2 separate regions of the Homo sapiens genome follow, and region 1 is linked to region 2. Evidence: promoter capture Hi-C in 16 types of primary human blood cells and fetal thymus (Javierre and others, 2016). All regions are on one chromosome and are shown on one strand. Each heading gives the region's core, a stretch centred on a gene start or on the middle of the fragment in contact. The rest is flanking DNA. Distances are from core to core; before and after follow the strand shown. Region 1 holds the start of LMBRD2 (LMBR1 domain containing 2). Region 2 holds the start of RIMOC1 (RAB7A interacting MON1-CCZ1 complex subunit 1).

Region 1 (6,656 bases), core at 262-2,761, 5.8 Mb after region 2:
ACCTTCACAGCAGCTAACAGAATCGCATTTTTTATGTGCCTGCGGCGAGTTACCAAGAAAACGAAGAAATGAAAAGAACAAATCGAGAAGGCTTTTTGACTTACGATCCTGCAGAAGGCCTCAAGAATTTCTCCCAGTGGAGGGAACAGACAAGGAGAGAGACAGGGCAATCATACACTGATTGAAAACGGTGGCAGAAAAGCCCAATTAGGGAAGCCAAATAAAACCACACGCTGATCCCCGCACTAAGGCATCCATCCATTCACACTTTCCCCAAGAAGGGGCTAAGCAACCATTCACTTAACAGCATTACTAACAATATTAGCCAGTAGCGATATTCGCGGCCTAAAAGAATTATTAAGAGGGTCCATTTCATGCTCTTCCCCTTTTTGCAATCCGTTTACCTGTGCATAGCGTCCGCAGGCCCGGGAGTTTAAAATACGTGCATTAACTGCAGAGCTGCTCGCCTCCCAGATTCCCGCTTTGGCGCGCGGCGGCTCCGAGCGTGCTGCTCGGGCCCCCAGCAGCCAGACCCGCTAAGCCTAGCAACGTTCCATCCCCACTGCGCGCGCAAGGCTCTACAGCCCGCTCTGCTTCGCGGCCGCACTGAGGCCCAAGGCCTGCTGGGAATTGTAGTTTCCGTCCCGCTTCGTAGTCCGACGGGCTCGCCCTTACTTCCTTCCCTTGCAGCTTTACCCGCCTTCGAGATACCCACAACCCCCCGCGGGAGCGGGACTGGTCGGCCCACGGGGTAGGCGGGGAGGCGGAAGCGGGCGGCGCTACGGCTGACTGGGAAATGTCAGCCGCTGGACTGTAGACGGATTTTCCTTTCTCGGGAGCCCGCAGGCCTTCTGGTGATCGCCAGCGCTGTCGTCTCTGAGCGTGGATCCCAGAACCTGGACAGCTGTGGCGGCCGCCGTTTCCCGGTCCCGTCCAGACGCTGTCTGGCGAGATCGGACGGTGAGCCTAAGGCGGAACGCGTGAGGCGCTTTTGAGTCTGGGGTCCGGGGCCGAGAGCAGGCGGAAAGAGAGGGGACCCGGCAGACCCCGAGTGGCCGCCGCTGCGGGGCCCAAGTCCTTGGCTGCTGAGTGGTGACAGTAGCCCAGCCCGCCGGCCAGGTGAGAGGCTGCGAACTGCTGGCGTCGCACCTGTTCGTCCTTTTGCCAGGAAGCTTCTTCCTCCGTCGGGGAGAAGGCGGCCCTAAGAATTGGGTCTGTGGACGGGATCCTTCCTTTATCTGTAAAATAACGCACAACAGCTAAACACGCCGTTGGAACGAGAGACAATGGTTTAATTTTAGGGGAGCCGGAGACCCCAGCGGGTCCTGTGTGGTGGGAAGGCTGCGCATGCCCTTGCAGCCTTGACAGGTCTCATAAATAGCAACATGGGAATAAATGAAAGGACTGTATTTTGCAACGAGCTTTACCCGTGCACGCAGGGGGCCTCCAGCAAAGCCATTTGGTTGCTTGCTGTCGCTCAGCTGGCTACGTGTGTTTGCGTCGCCGCCTAAAAGCGAGCTGCTTTCAGCCTATCTCTGCTGAGAAGAGTTTGGGGGCAGTAAGAGTAGGGAGCGTGACATATTCCAGGTACAATGACCATGCGAAATCCATTGGGCAAACTATACTACAACTGTGACCCCGGGAAAACAGTGGAAGAGGGAAGGGGGATGAATTCTAAGCCTCATAAAAATGAAGATTTATAAAGTTCATAAGGAAGCATAACAGCTTCATCGCATATTAGAATATTCAGTGATGCTGTATGACACACCCTCTGGTTTCCTTGAAAAAATGATTCGCTCTGTAGTGAAATTAAACCTCCCTTGTGCAGGTATATGCTTGTTTCAAGCTTGGTCCTTAGCTTGAAAAGTAACTGCCTCTTGAGGAAGGAATTCATGAACCTTTAGCTCGTTCTTGAAAGATGAGATTGGTGTAAAGAAGGGATCTGTTCACAACTTGGTTTTGATTGGAACTAGGTGCAGAATCCTAGGCTAAGCCGTTCATCAAACTAATGTTATATGGAAAGCATTTTAAAATGCAATATCCTGATGTTTTACAGAAAGTGACCTTTATGTTACTTTGGCTAAGGAGAAAGCATTTGCCTTTGTTTGAAGCTACGTCCTTTCCCTGAAGATTGCAACTCATAGGAGAAAATATTTTTGACACAAAAAATTATAGTTTCCTTCAGGAAAGGGAACAAAACAGAGAGAGCCTGTAAGCTAATGGAGGAGAAAGAATAAACAAAAATATTTAAGATGCCATAATGAGAATAAACAGTTTTGAGATGTAAAATAATTGGGAGAGCCCACTTCAGATATAGATCTCATAGATAGGAAGGTTTAATCGATGAGATGATTCTAAATTTAAAGATGAGAAATATCTTTGTTCAGTCTTGGTTTTACTAGGAGTTACCTGGGAACTAGAATACTTGCAACATCTGAATTAGTGAACACAAGATCCTCTCTAGGACTTCAGGGAGAGCCTGTCAGTTTTGAAATTCAGTTTGATAGTTTGCCCCGGTAACAGACATACTTCATCTTCCTAATATGGGAATAATTTTTTTTTGCCTTCCTTCTAATCATGACTATTGCCTTAATATAATAAATGCAAGTTTAAATTGGTACATTAGATTCTTTTTAACGTAAGGAATTGTGTCCATTGAAGACGAGATTAGTAGGTACATAGAGGTTGCTATCTGGTCATAAAGAACTGCATTGTGATTGCTACTGATGTATCTTATTTTTTCTGATTAATTTTATTTTTATTTTTTGAGAAGAAATTTCACTCTTATTGCCCAGGCTGGAGTGCAATGGCGCAATCTCGGCTCACCATAACCTCCACCTCCCATGTTCAAGCAATTCCCCTGCCTCAGCCTTCCTGAGTAGCTGGGATTACAGGCATGCGCCACCACGCCTGGCTAATTTTGTATTTTTAGTGGAGACGGGGTTTCTGCATGTTGGTCAGGCTGGTCTCGAACTCCCGACCTCAGATGATCCACCCACCTCAGCCTCCTAAAGTGCTGAGATTACAGGCGTGAGCCTCCGTGCCCAGCCGATTCTTACATCTCTTTAAAAGGAAGACGGTCCACCCTTCTTTGTTTCTCCATCCTGCTGTCTAGATGATGATAGGATTCCTGGAGTTCCAGCATCTGTCCTGGAACATAAGGATTAAAGCCACCTGCTAAGGATGTGGACTATAGAAGGGGCCTGGGCCTCTGATAATCTGCTAACTTGCCATAACCACCTATCTCAAGACTTACACGAGAAATAAATTCTGCATTGTATAAGTCTGTACTATATTGGACTTTTCTGTTATGTGTAGCCAAACTAATCTTGAATAATGTATTTCCAGAACTGATAGTCTCTGTGGTGGTGGCAGCTACCTGTTTACATAACCCTTATCACCCCCTAATGTATTTTTTTTAATTGCCTGTTTCTTCCCACTAGACTTTTTAAGGGCAGGGACTTTGCTTGGATTTTTCTATCTCCAGCCCCTTGAACAGAGCTCACCATATAGTAGGCGTTCAGTAAATATTTGCTAAATGAATGAATGGTGCTTGGAACTAAGTAGATCTTTAATTCATTGTAATTTAATGCTCTAAGATAGGCAGCTTGGGGCAAGAACAAACGGATTCTAATTTACTCTATGTTTTCCACTTTTCCCATGTAGAGTACAGTCATATATTACCCTTAAATCAAGTAATAGTAGTATAATCTGTAATGTAAAAAGTTTGCGTTAAATTCTTTATTAAACATGACTAAGCATTCTGTCCTGATATATCTAAAAGAAATGGGAGAAAGTTTCTAATTTGTTCCCTGTGAAGACTGAACAAAATAAATCATTAAGCAATTTAAATTGCATTAAGAAACTATGTCTAGATTAGAGAAGAGACATGTAATTATGATCCAGGCTCTGTAGTAAAGATGCCTCTATTTGAATCCCAGCTTTACCATTCACCAGCTCTGTTAACTTGGACAAGTTACTTAACCTCTCTGCACTGTTTTTTTTCTGTTAAGCAAGGAAACGAACAGCCCTTTCTTACTAGGTTGTGAGGTCTAATTTGATAAAGCTTGGCAGGTACTAGTATTAATACAATGCTTAAAATTTAGTGAACACATTCTAAATGTTAGCTATTCGTTTTTTGAAATTATTTTATTATTAGGAAGGACTTTACAGATTATTCTCTATCAAAATGTCTTGCAATTTCTATGTATGAAATCTTTAAGAATTCAGTAAAATTTTAGTTCTTTTTTCTTATATGCTTACATGATTGCTACCTCTTCTCTTCATGCCTTGCAAAAGGTAAAGCAGGACAGTATGCCACTGTCCTCAGGGGCTTGTCACATTTTGGAATTCAGGTTACCTGGTTGGTTCGCCAACTCAGCTCTTAGGTACCTTTAAAAAATATTATGATGGTTTTTTTTTTTTTTTCATTTTTCGAGTGGGAGTAATAGTCTCTTGCAGTAGTCTGTGTCCTAAACTGAACTCTCTCATACCTGAAATCTTTAAATATGTGAATAACGATTATGTTTGGAAGATTTAAATTTAATTATTGGTGGAAAATTGTTGACTTAATCATTCACTTCTAATTCTGGTTCTTTTGATTTTTCATAATTAGGATTTTGAGTTGTCTCCTGGTTTTTATTATTTTGCACATATCTGAGTAAAAATACAGATATGTGAAGTTAGATAAAATTTCCAATTGGAACCTAATGATTCATCAGACTCAGATATTTAAGTTAACAGTATTTGAGAATGATGAATCATTAGGTTCCGGTCAGAAATTTTTCATTCAGTTTCAGAATCTTTGGTTTTGACAAAATTGTTGTCAGTGTTTTGTTTGTGTTCTGATCACTTGGTACCCATTCTCTCTCTCTCTCTCTCAAAACATTTGGAATTCTTCAAACTACAAAATTATCTTAACCTCTGAAGTTCCATCAAAGGGTATTTGGCCTGAAAAACTATTATCAGCCGTAAAGTACTCAGGAAACAGTACTTTAGTCAGTAACATTAGTCAGTAACATTAACACGCTAATTGTGAAACCATTATAAAGGCATTTGAAAGTAATATTGAATAATATTTTGATGATTGGAAAAAGATTGAATTGGATTTTAAATGTTTAAGACTTTCAGAACTGGTGTTTTGAAGGGTACGATATGCCCACACATCGGGCACTAAAATCTGGTAGTTTTAATGAATTGCCATTTTGATTTCGAGTATAATCAAGTTTTGCTACTGTGGTGCTTAATCACATGGAACTGAATTTTTATTTACCTCCCCATTTTAGTATCACCATCATCATCATTATCATCATTATCATCCCCTTTCTTCTCCTTCTTCCCTAAACCTTGCAACTCATCACTTGAATGTTGGCACAAGGTTAAAGATATGGACTTTGAAACTATTATTTTCTCAAGTTAGGAAAACCCCAATTTTTATCTCCAGTTTCATGGGATCACTGGTCCTAATCTGTGTCATAATAAGGCAATATAGTTCGGCCTCAACAGAAATAGATGGTATGGTAAACAGAATAATAAACCCCTAAGAATGTCTATGCTCTTATCTCTGGAACCAGTAAAAATGATGAAATTATTCAGGCAGGCCCAGTGTAATCAGATAAGCCCTGTAAAACAAATTTCAAGTGTGAGAAGAATTTGACAAGCCATTGCTGCTTCTAAAATATTCAGGACCACAGACACACACACACACACACACACACACACACACACACACACTCACACACACACACACACACGCAGAGAGAGAAGTGAGTGAGGAGATAGATATGTTAATTTGTTTGACTATGGTGATTATTTCACTGTATATGTACAGTATATCAAAACATCACTGTTGTGCACTTTAAATATATACAATTTAAAAACATATACAGAGCCACATGCAAAGACTGGGGAGAGGCCTCTAGAGCTAAGGTTAAATGCCAGCTGTCAGTTTGCAGGGGAACAGGGATCTCAGTCCTATAACCATAAAGAACTGAGTTTTGGCTTGGCTAGGTGGATCATGCCTGAAATCTCAGTGCTTTGGGAGGCCAAGGTGAGAGGATCACTTGCAGCCAGGTATTTGAGTCCAGCCTGGGCAACATAGCAAGACCCTGTCTCTACAAAAAAAATTTTTTTTTAAAATTAGCCAGGCGTGGTGGTGTGCACCTATAGTCCTAGCTATCTGGAAGCTGAGGTGGGAGGATCAGTTGAGCCCAGGAGCTCAAGGTTATGTTGAGCCATGATCATGCCACTGCCCTCCGGCCTGGGCGACAGTGTGAGACCCTGCCAGTAGCCTGAATGAGATTAGAAATGGATTCTTCTTCAGAGAAAGATGCAAACCTGCTGACACCTTGATTTTAAACTTGTGTGACCCTAAGCAGAGAACTAAGTTGAACTATGCTATGTTTGAACTTCTGACCTACAGAAGCTATAAGATATTAATACTAAATGGATGTTGTTTAAAGTCACTAAGTTTGTAGTAATTTGTTACAGCAGTGGTAAGATACTAACACATGAAGTGTGGGAAGGTATGTAACCAAATCATTTATTACTAGAATAAAGGATCCATAATTCTATTTCTTCATCTACAACCCTTTAAAGTGCTGACTATGAATCAGACTGAAAAACAGAGTGCCATAGTAAAAAAATTAATAGCTAGT
Region 2 (7,388 bases), core at 2,666-5,165:
CATAGATATGCATGACACTAGCAGGGAGAATAATATTGAGAATCCTAGGGAAGGTAAATTTCAGGGGAAAAAAAAAAAGTCAGGGCCCTTATATACTCCCCTGCTCCCTCTGAAACTTTCAAGAGATTGGACATTGCACACACTAGTGTCCTGTTCAATTATCTCTAAAGGAAAACAATTCCGTTATCTGTAAGATTTTCTTCCTGACTTTTCTTATTAACACATCTAATAAATCTTACTTCTTTTCATACTACCTCAAAGTTTTAAGTTTTTGTGTTTTATTCATAGTTTTTTGGACAAAATTAAACACTTGAAATATAGAATAAACTGATTTCATTTTACCTAAAGTTGGAGTCAATCATCTAAATAAACAACCTGCCCTCATAAAATGCCAGAGTCCACCACTCTTTCAGTACCTGTGTGTAAAGTTCTAGAAGATTTGATGGATTTGAACATTCTTTCTCTTCTCCACACAGGAGTTTCAATTTTTCTAATGCTGCAGAGGCCCGAATTAAAAAGTGATCTATAAGAAATAAAAACATGAGGATTACTTCACCTAGTTTCAGAGTGTTATTTAAACAAAAAACACATTATGTATGAAGATGAAATGACAAGATGAAATAATATTATGACATATGGAGAAACAGAATTATAGTAATAATATCTTATCTAAAACATGAAATATCTCATAATGCCTAATCCTAATTAAGTAAATTTATCATGAAAATTTTTCCTACAAAGCAAAATACTGAAAACTTTCTAGAGTCACTCTTGCCATTTCTTAAATGCAGTCTGTATTCTCATTATGCTTCTTTTATGATAATGCACTCAAAATAATTAAACAAATTTAAAACTTACTGGAATATACAAATAATATACATAAATATACAGAAAGGGCTTCCACTGAAAACTTAAGATTTCATAAATGTAGTTGCAAATGTTATTCAAAAGACCATGATTGACCAAATCAAATTCCTTACAAAATGCCAGCATTATGAGCAATTTTATAATTGTTTATATCTACTACAATTAAAATTACATAATACATCTGTGTATTTAATTCCTTTAAAAACTTAGAAACAAATTACCTCATTTCCTCAAAACCTGGAAGAAAAGGAACTAAATACTTCTAATAAGTCCTCTAATCACAATTCACCCTCCCTCCGCCTTCACCATCTCCTGATTTTTTTTCCCTTTCTCTAATGTCATAATCCCTTTGTTGCTTCTGTGATTTCACCTTTTCTTATGTGTCCACTTCAAGGTACTATCCACCCTTCTGCAGCACTTCATGAAGTCAAATTTAGATACACCCATAATCAAGACACTAAACTCTCTGAGTTTACCTCTCAGTGCTTCCCTTCTGAAACATAGTCTGATATTCTAAAATATATCCCTTTCTTCTTCATGGGCCAATGAACAGATAGTGTAGCATTTGGTGTAGGCCTACCTGATCCAGCCTCAGGAGTTACACAGATAAGGTGTTCATTGTTGGAGCAAAAGCACCATCAGGTTATGTCTGTTGGCAATCATGTGACTGCTGCCTTAAGTCTTCTCAGGTAAAGCCTGAGATTGCATTTTGACTGCTGTAAGATCCACTTTCACTTGAGTTGAAATCTACTTCTTAGCACTGTCCTTCCACCTCTCATTAGCCCAGAAGTGACATCCACACAATGTAGAAAAAGATTCTACTATAAACTGAAATTACATGGAATATGACATGCCTTAGGTGCTTCTTTAGAGAGTGTGTTGATATTTTGTTTAACTTGCAGGATTATTTTCAATGTAAAGATTTGCATTGAACTCACTAAACCATTGCTGAAAGAGTATGTCACATAAATTGATGACATAATTACTGTGGCAGGGGTGTGGTGGTGGCATAACTCACACTTTGGAAAAGCCCATAAAATGCAGTATTTTGACTAGAACTATTTAGTCAAAGTAATGACTGGCAAAGCAAAAGATGAAACTGATTCTTATATAATCTGTGGAAAAACTCCCTCATGACGTACTTCCATAGAGTAAACAGATTGTGCTTGTATGATGAGAAATAAATTAACAAAAATTGGCTAGAAATTTAAAGACGCATTCTTAGATGAAATAATGTCTGGCTGTATCTCATCTAATCTGAAGAAGACAATGGAAATCATCAAACCCTTATATCCTAGTATAAATATATACTCATTACATTAAAGAACAAAGTTTGAATGTATATTATTCTTGTTGCGTGGAAAAATAATGCCAAATTCAATTCAAGTACATGAAATCTTGTTTTAATTAAAGTTCATAAATCTTGTAATATTTTTAAGATTGAACTGATTTCCATGCTGATCAACGGCTCATAATGTGGACCACTAACATTGTCATTTTATTTTAGTAAATTTTCAGAAGTATAAAGCCTTCAAACAAGAATTCCATATATAGCACATGACTTTTATTTCCAGCTCTGATTCATTCCAGATTAAAGAACTCTTCCAAGGGAAATGAGAATGGCTTTTTAGTTCAGTGATAAGTGAATAAAAAACATTCTTTGGTCTCTTTGGACTGGTTCAAGTGAATCTGGAATTAGAGGTAACATAGATAACTTTCAAGTTAATAGCTCCTACTACCCAAGAATTATTCATGTGAATCCACAGACCAAAATATAAGTCGGCTTCAGGGTGGTCTGTAGGTCTTTAAAGAACACACTCCTGGCCTGGCACAGTGGCTCACGCCTGTAATCCCAGCACTTTGGGAAGCCAAAGCGGGTGGAATGCTTGAGCCCAGGAGTTCAGGACCAACCTGGATGACATGGTGAACCCCGTTTCTACAAAATATGCCAAAGTTAGCCGGGCGAGATGGTGTGCGCCTGTTGTCCCACTACTAGAGGGGCTCCAGCCTGAGCAACAGAATGATACTCTGCCTCTAAAAACAAAACAAAACAAAACACTCCTGATAAATGATAATCTGGCAAAAAATATTCACTGAAACTAAGGCATTTCATCATAGACCCTATTTAATAACAAATTCACCAACTATTCAATCGCTTAAGAAAATGTTCCACCACTGTTTTCCTATGAGTCCGATGATATGAGTCAGTCCACAGAATTTTAAAAACTATCTGTAGTAATTGCTCAAACTCAAAAAGGAATAATGTAGAACCTAAAGGCAGCTGAGACGTAATGAAAAGAATTGGACTTAAATTCAGAAGGTTGAGGCAATTCCCTAGCCCAGTTTTTCCTAACAGCTTAGACCTTTCCAAAACAAGTATGCCAATACTTAACAGAGCCCTTGTGAGAACTGGCATGATGTATGGGGCAGAATAGTCTACACACCAATGTAAAGCTCTTCTATAGAATGTTGTTTTGAATCCAAAACGTAAAACGCAAATTACAACGCAGCAATGAAAAAGTGGAACTGTTATACATGTCTTTTTATCTTTACAGGATGCAAACCACCATAACTAATTTGAGTGTTATCATTCATCTTAGCCATTTATTTAAACTTCTGTATTTTATTTAGATTCTGCCCTTCTTCCAATCGCTACCGAGACAGTTTACACCAGCACGGATCTAGACAGATTTTCCATGGGTTCTGAATAATGCGGTTTTCGAAGACAACGCCTTGGCATTGTGAGTTCTGGGAAGTGGGCAATCGATGGCGCAGAGGGGCTCAGAAGCGACAGACCTCGGGTAACCACCTGCGGCCTGGGACCCAAAGGAACACAGGCCTCAGCCTCTAGCCCTCACAGCCATCGAGCGCCAGTACCTTAGCGCCGTCTGCCCCGCCCGCCTCCCTCTCCTCCGCTCCCTCACCATCTTCACCGGCAGCTTCGCTAAGTTGCTGTATGTGGGCCTGAGCCAGATCCCCGAGCTCTTCCACTCGTCTCACCACACTAGAGACTGCGGCCGCCATGGCCACAATCGGCGGGTGCGCCCCGGTCACGTGACCGTGTTGGCCCGCAATCACCTGATCCCCCGGCACGGGCGGGGCCTAGGGCGGACCTCTCCTGGTTGGTGGGAGGAGACATCAGCTCCGGAAGAGGGCTGGCCCAGGCCGGCAAAGGTCTTTCCGGGTCATTTTTCCCTCCTGGACTTCCCTTCCCTCCCATAATCCTGAGCAGCAAGGAGACTAGGGGCGGGTGTGACGTTGAGACACGCCTCTCTCTAGCCCCCTCCTGTAAGCCAATAGGGAGCCAGCCGTGCCCCTCGGCTGACCCAATCGGAAGTCAGCTCTCTCCGCCTGCCTCTTGGAAGACAGCTTGGTGACGTCTGGCTGGCAGGATGCGGATTGTCGTCCGCACTCCCACTTCCCTGTCCGGCGCGGGAAGCACAGTCTGGAGGGCGGACGCGAGGGTCTGGAGAGAGGACTGTCAGTTTTGGCCTTGTAGTAAGGAGGTTGCTAAAATAAAGTGATTATAATCTCCTGGTCCTAAATGGAAACCCGACCGGCCCCCTGTGTAACACATCCAAGTCTCCAAGAGTTTGTTGTACATCTGGATGGGGAGCTCCAAACACTAGTGGAGTTGCCAGTCTACATGGTTGAATATTGCTTTTGTAAATCTGATTTTTAGCAGTCGAATTTATCTCTGACCTCCCTTGGAGTTCACATTTAAAGTACTTTAGACATCTTGCGTCCAGTGGTAGTAAATTCTGCGGCCACAAAACTATTTTCATTTTTCTTTCATCTCAAGACCTTCCCTTAAGGCGCTAATTGTGCATGAGGTTCATCCTCTCAATCGGGAGTTTCAAAGCACTCAGTCAGCAAGTCTAACTTCACTTTGCATTCTGTGAATGCTTTCTTGCCTCTGGTCAAACAAATCGTTAACTCTGTGTATTCATTTCTCAGTTTGACACACTATATCTTGAATAATCTCCATCCTATTGTTTCTCATGGAAGGTAGTTTTTTATATGTAATAGAAAAATACTAAAAATAGAGAAAAAGTGTATTGTGATTTATAAGTGATTGACCACAATGACTCTCTAACTGACCTTTGTAATACCAGTTTCTTCTGACAATTCACCCTAAATATAGAGGACAGGAATCATGTATTTTGTGTCCTTGGTGCCTCATACAGTGCCTGGCACATATGCACTCTTGTCAACAAGCAAGATGGCAAGGGGATATGATGTGGTCTGTGGGAGTAGACAATTATTCAATAGTGTGGGAATTGTAGGTGAGGAAAAAAAGAATCTAAGTATAAACAAGAAGTTGAGAGAAGGCTTTCTCAACAAGGGATGGAGAAGGTGGTAGTTGAAGAGGGGCAAGTGCTGGAAGGTAGGGTGGAGAATGATCGTATCTGTACACAAAGGGGGAAAAATAGGGAAATAGGGATAAATTCAAAATGAAAGTAGGGAGCCAGCAATGGATAGAGAAAAGAGCAGAAGGTTACACCTGATGCCTTCTGAATCTTCTACAAGATGTAGAACTAAATGAAGCCTTCAGAAGATTTTACTAAACTTTTCAAAAAATAATTTTCAAAAAATAATTAACCTTTGATTAGGAATTTTCAGTCTCCTAGAAAATGTGTAATTTACCATTCTTAAACTACTTAAAAGAATTACCTGGACATGTGGGCAACAGACAAAGGCACAGCTGAAATATTTTGACTGTGGATCTACAAATTATCTCTGCAGAAGTGTTTTACTCTCAGGTCCACTGTTCTTCTCAGGCTTTTATAAAAGACATCTTAGGATCTATGTAATCAGGTCATCCATTTTCTAGCCATGAGATTTGGGTCTGGGAGATCTTGCTCATGATTTCGAAGTGATCTTGGATCGCCATTTGAATCAAGGGTTCCTTTTTAAAATAAACATTTAGAGTCAAATATTCAAAAGGCCCTTTTATTACAACCACAGCTTTATCTGTTCCCTCTCCATAAATGTGGCTATTGAAAACATTTTAGGCCAGGTATAATGGCTCATGCCTGTAATCCCAGCACTTTGGGAGATGTAGGCAGGCAGATCACCTGAGGTCAGGGGTTCAAAACCAGCCTGGCCAACATAGTGAAACCCCTTCTCTACTAAAAATACAAAAAAATTAGCCAGGCATGGTGGCACATGACTGCAGTGACAGCTGCTCAGGAGGCTGAGGCAGGAGAATTGCTTGAACCCAGGAGGTGGCCATTTCAGTGAACCGAGATCGCACCACTGCACTCCTGTCTGGGTTACAGAGAGAGACTCTGTCCCAAAACATAAATAAATAAAAATAAAAAATAAAAACATTTTAGTGGAGTGTGTTTCCAATACTTCAAAGTCTTTTTCTTGTTTTCCTTTATGTTCTCTTTCCCTAGTTAATGTCGTGGTCAAATGTAGAAACTTCATGTTTGTTAATGCATTTTATTTAGTTCAAAGTTTAAGTGAACTGTAAAATATTGAAACATAATAAAATCACCCTTACCCCCATAACTTCTTCCTTGCCATCTTTGCTCAATCTCTCCAGACTCTGCTACATTTCTTCTGGCTCTATCAGGCTAAGCCAGTCTTGTCTGTTTGAACTACCAAGGAGCACTGAGTCCTGACGTTAAGACTCTTTCATATTTACCAGGCTCCTAATAAAGTATTTCTCTCTAGCTATGAGTGTGATTCTAATTTTTAGCCCTCTATGGTAAACACCAAGCTTTGTGACAAAAATGATACAAAAGGAGACACAACAAACAAATATCATGAATATATTTGCAAAAATCCTAACTAGAATATACTCAATTTAAAAGATGGGTAGGCCGGGCGCGGTGGCTCACGCCTGTAATCCCAGCACTTTGGGAGGCCGAGGCGGGCGGATCACGAGGTCAGGAGATCGAGACCATCCCGGCTAAAACGGTGAAACCCCGTCTCTACTAAAAATACAAAAAAATTAGCCGGGCGTAGTGGCGGGCGCCTGTAGTCCCAGCTACTTGGGAGGCTGAGGCAGGAGAATGGCGTGAACCCGGGAGGCGGAGCTTGCAGTGAGCCGAGATCCCGCCACTGCACTCCAGCCTGGGTGATAGAACGAGACTCCGTCTCAAAAAAAAAAAAAAAAAAAAAAAAAAAGATGGGTAATACCCAAAATCTTAAGCACTCAGTCTCATACACTGTTGTTAGGAATATACTTTTATACAAACTACTGAAGGATGAATTATGTATTAAAGCCTTTAAAAATAACTGATCCAGTTATTTATCCTAAGACAACAGCTGGAGAAGTGTGTAAAGCTCAATAAAACAAGGAGGTTCACCACAATTTTGTTCATAATTGTGAACATTTGGAAATAACACAGATATCTGTCAGAGGAGATTGATTCAATAAGTTTTGGTATATTTATGCAGCAGGATATGCTGTAGGCATTAAAAATTATGTTTTATCTCCATATCTATTGACAGATTAAGATTATCATAATTTCTTATTAAATAAAAATAAGTATAACAGTACACAGAGT

What was found. The method cuts DNA at HindIII sites, captures the fragments that hold promoters and counts their contacts. A CHiCAGO score of 5 or more calls a contact.
Region 1: a fragment that was not itself captured here is called in contact with the fragment with the promoter of RIMOC1 in region 2 in 3 of 17 cell types (fetal thymus, naive CD8 T cells and neutrophils); the score reaches 6.6 in fetal thymus.

Annotation. Positions count from the first base shown.
Region 1 is chr5:36,146,019-36,152,674 of GRCh38, reverse strand. It overlaps LMBRD2 (LMBR1 domain containing 2), which reads left to right and starts at 788. Exons shown (of 18, transcript NM_001007527.2): 1 at 788-1,119. It overlaps SKP2 (S-phase kinase associated protein 2), which reads right to left and starts at 564. Exons shown (of 10, transcript NM_005983.4): 1 at 405-564. The coding sequence starts at 412. MIR580 (microRNA 580) reads left to right here and starts at 4,687; the gene lies at 4,687-4,783. RefSeq lists enhancers at 258-447, 521-1,504 and silencers at 718-857, 1,458-1,517. The HindIII fragment of the contact is 674 bases long and covers 1,175-1,848 here.
Region 2 is chr5:41,900,871-41,908,258 of GRCh38, reverse strand. RIMOC1 (RAB7A interacting MON1-CCZ1 complex subunit 1) reads right to left here and starts at 3,915. Exons shown (of 6, transcript NM_175921.6): 1 at 3,792-3,915; 2 at 417-523. The coding sequence starts at 3,891. RefSeq lists enhancers at 3,813-3,932, 3,685-4,231, 4,343-4,482. The HindIII fragment of the contact is 10,560 bases long and covers 1-6,597 here.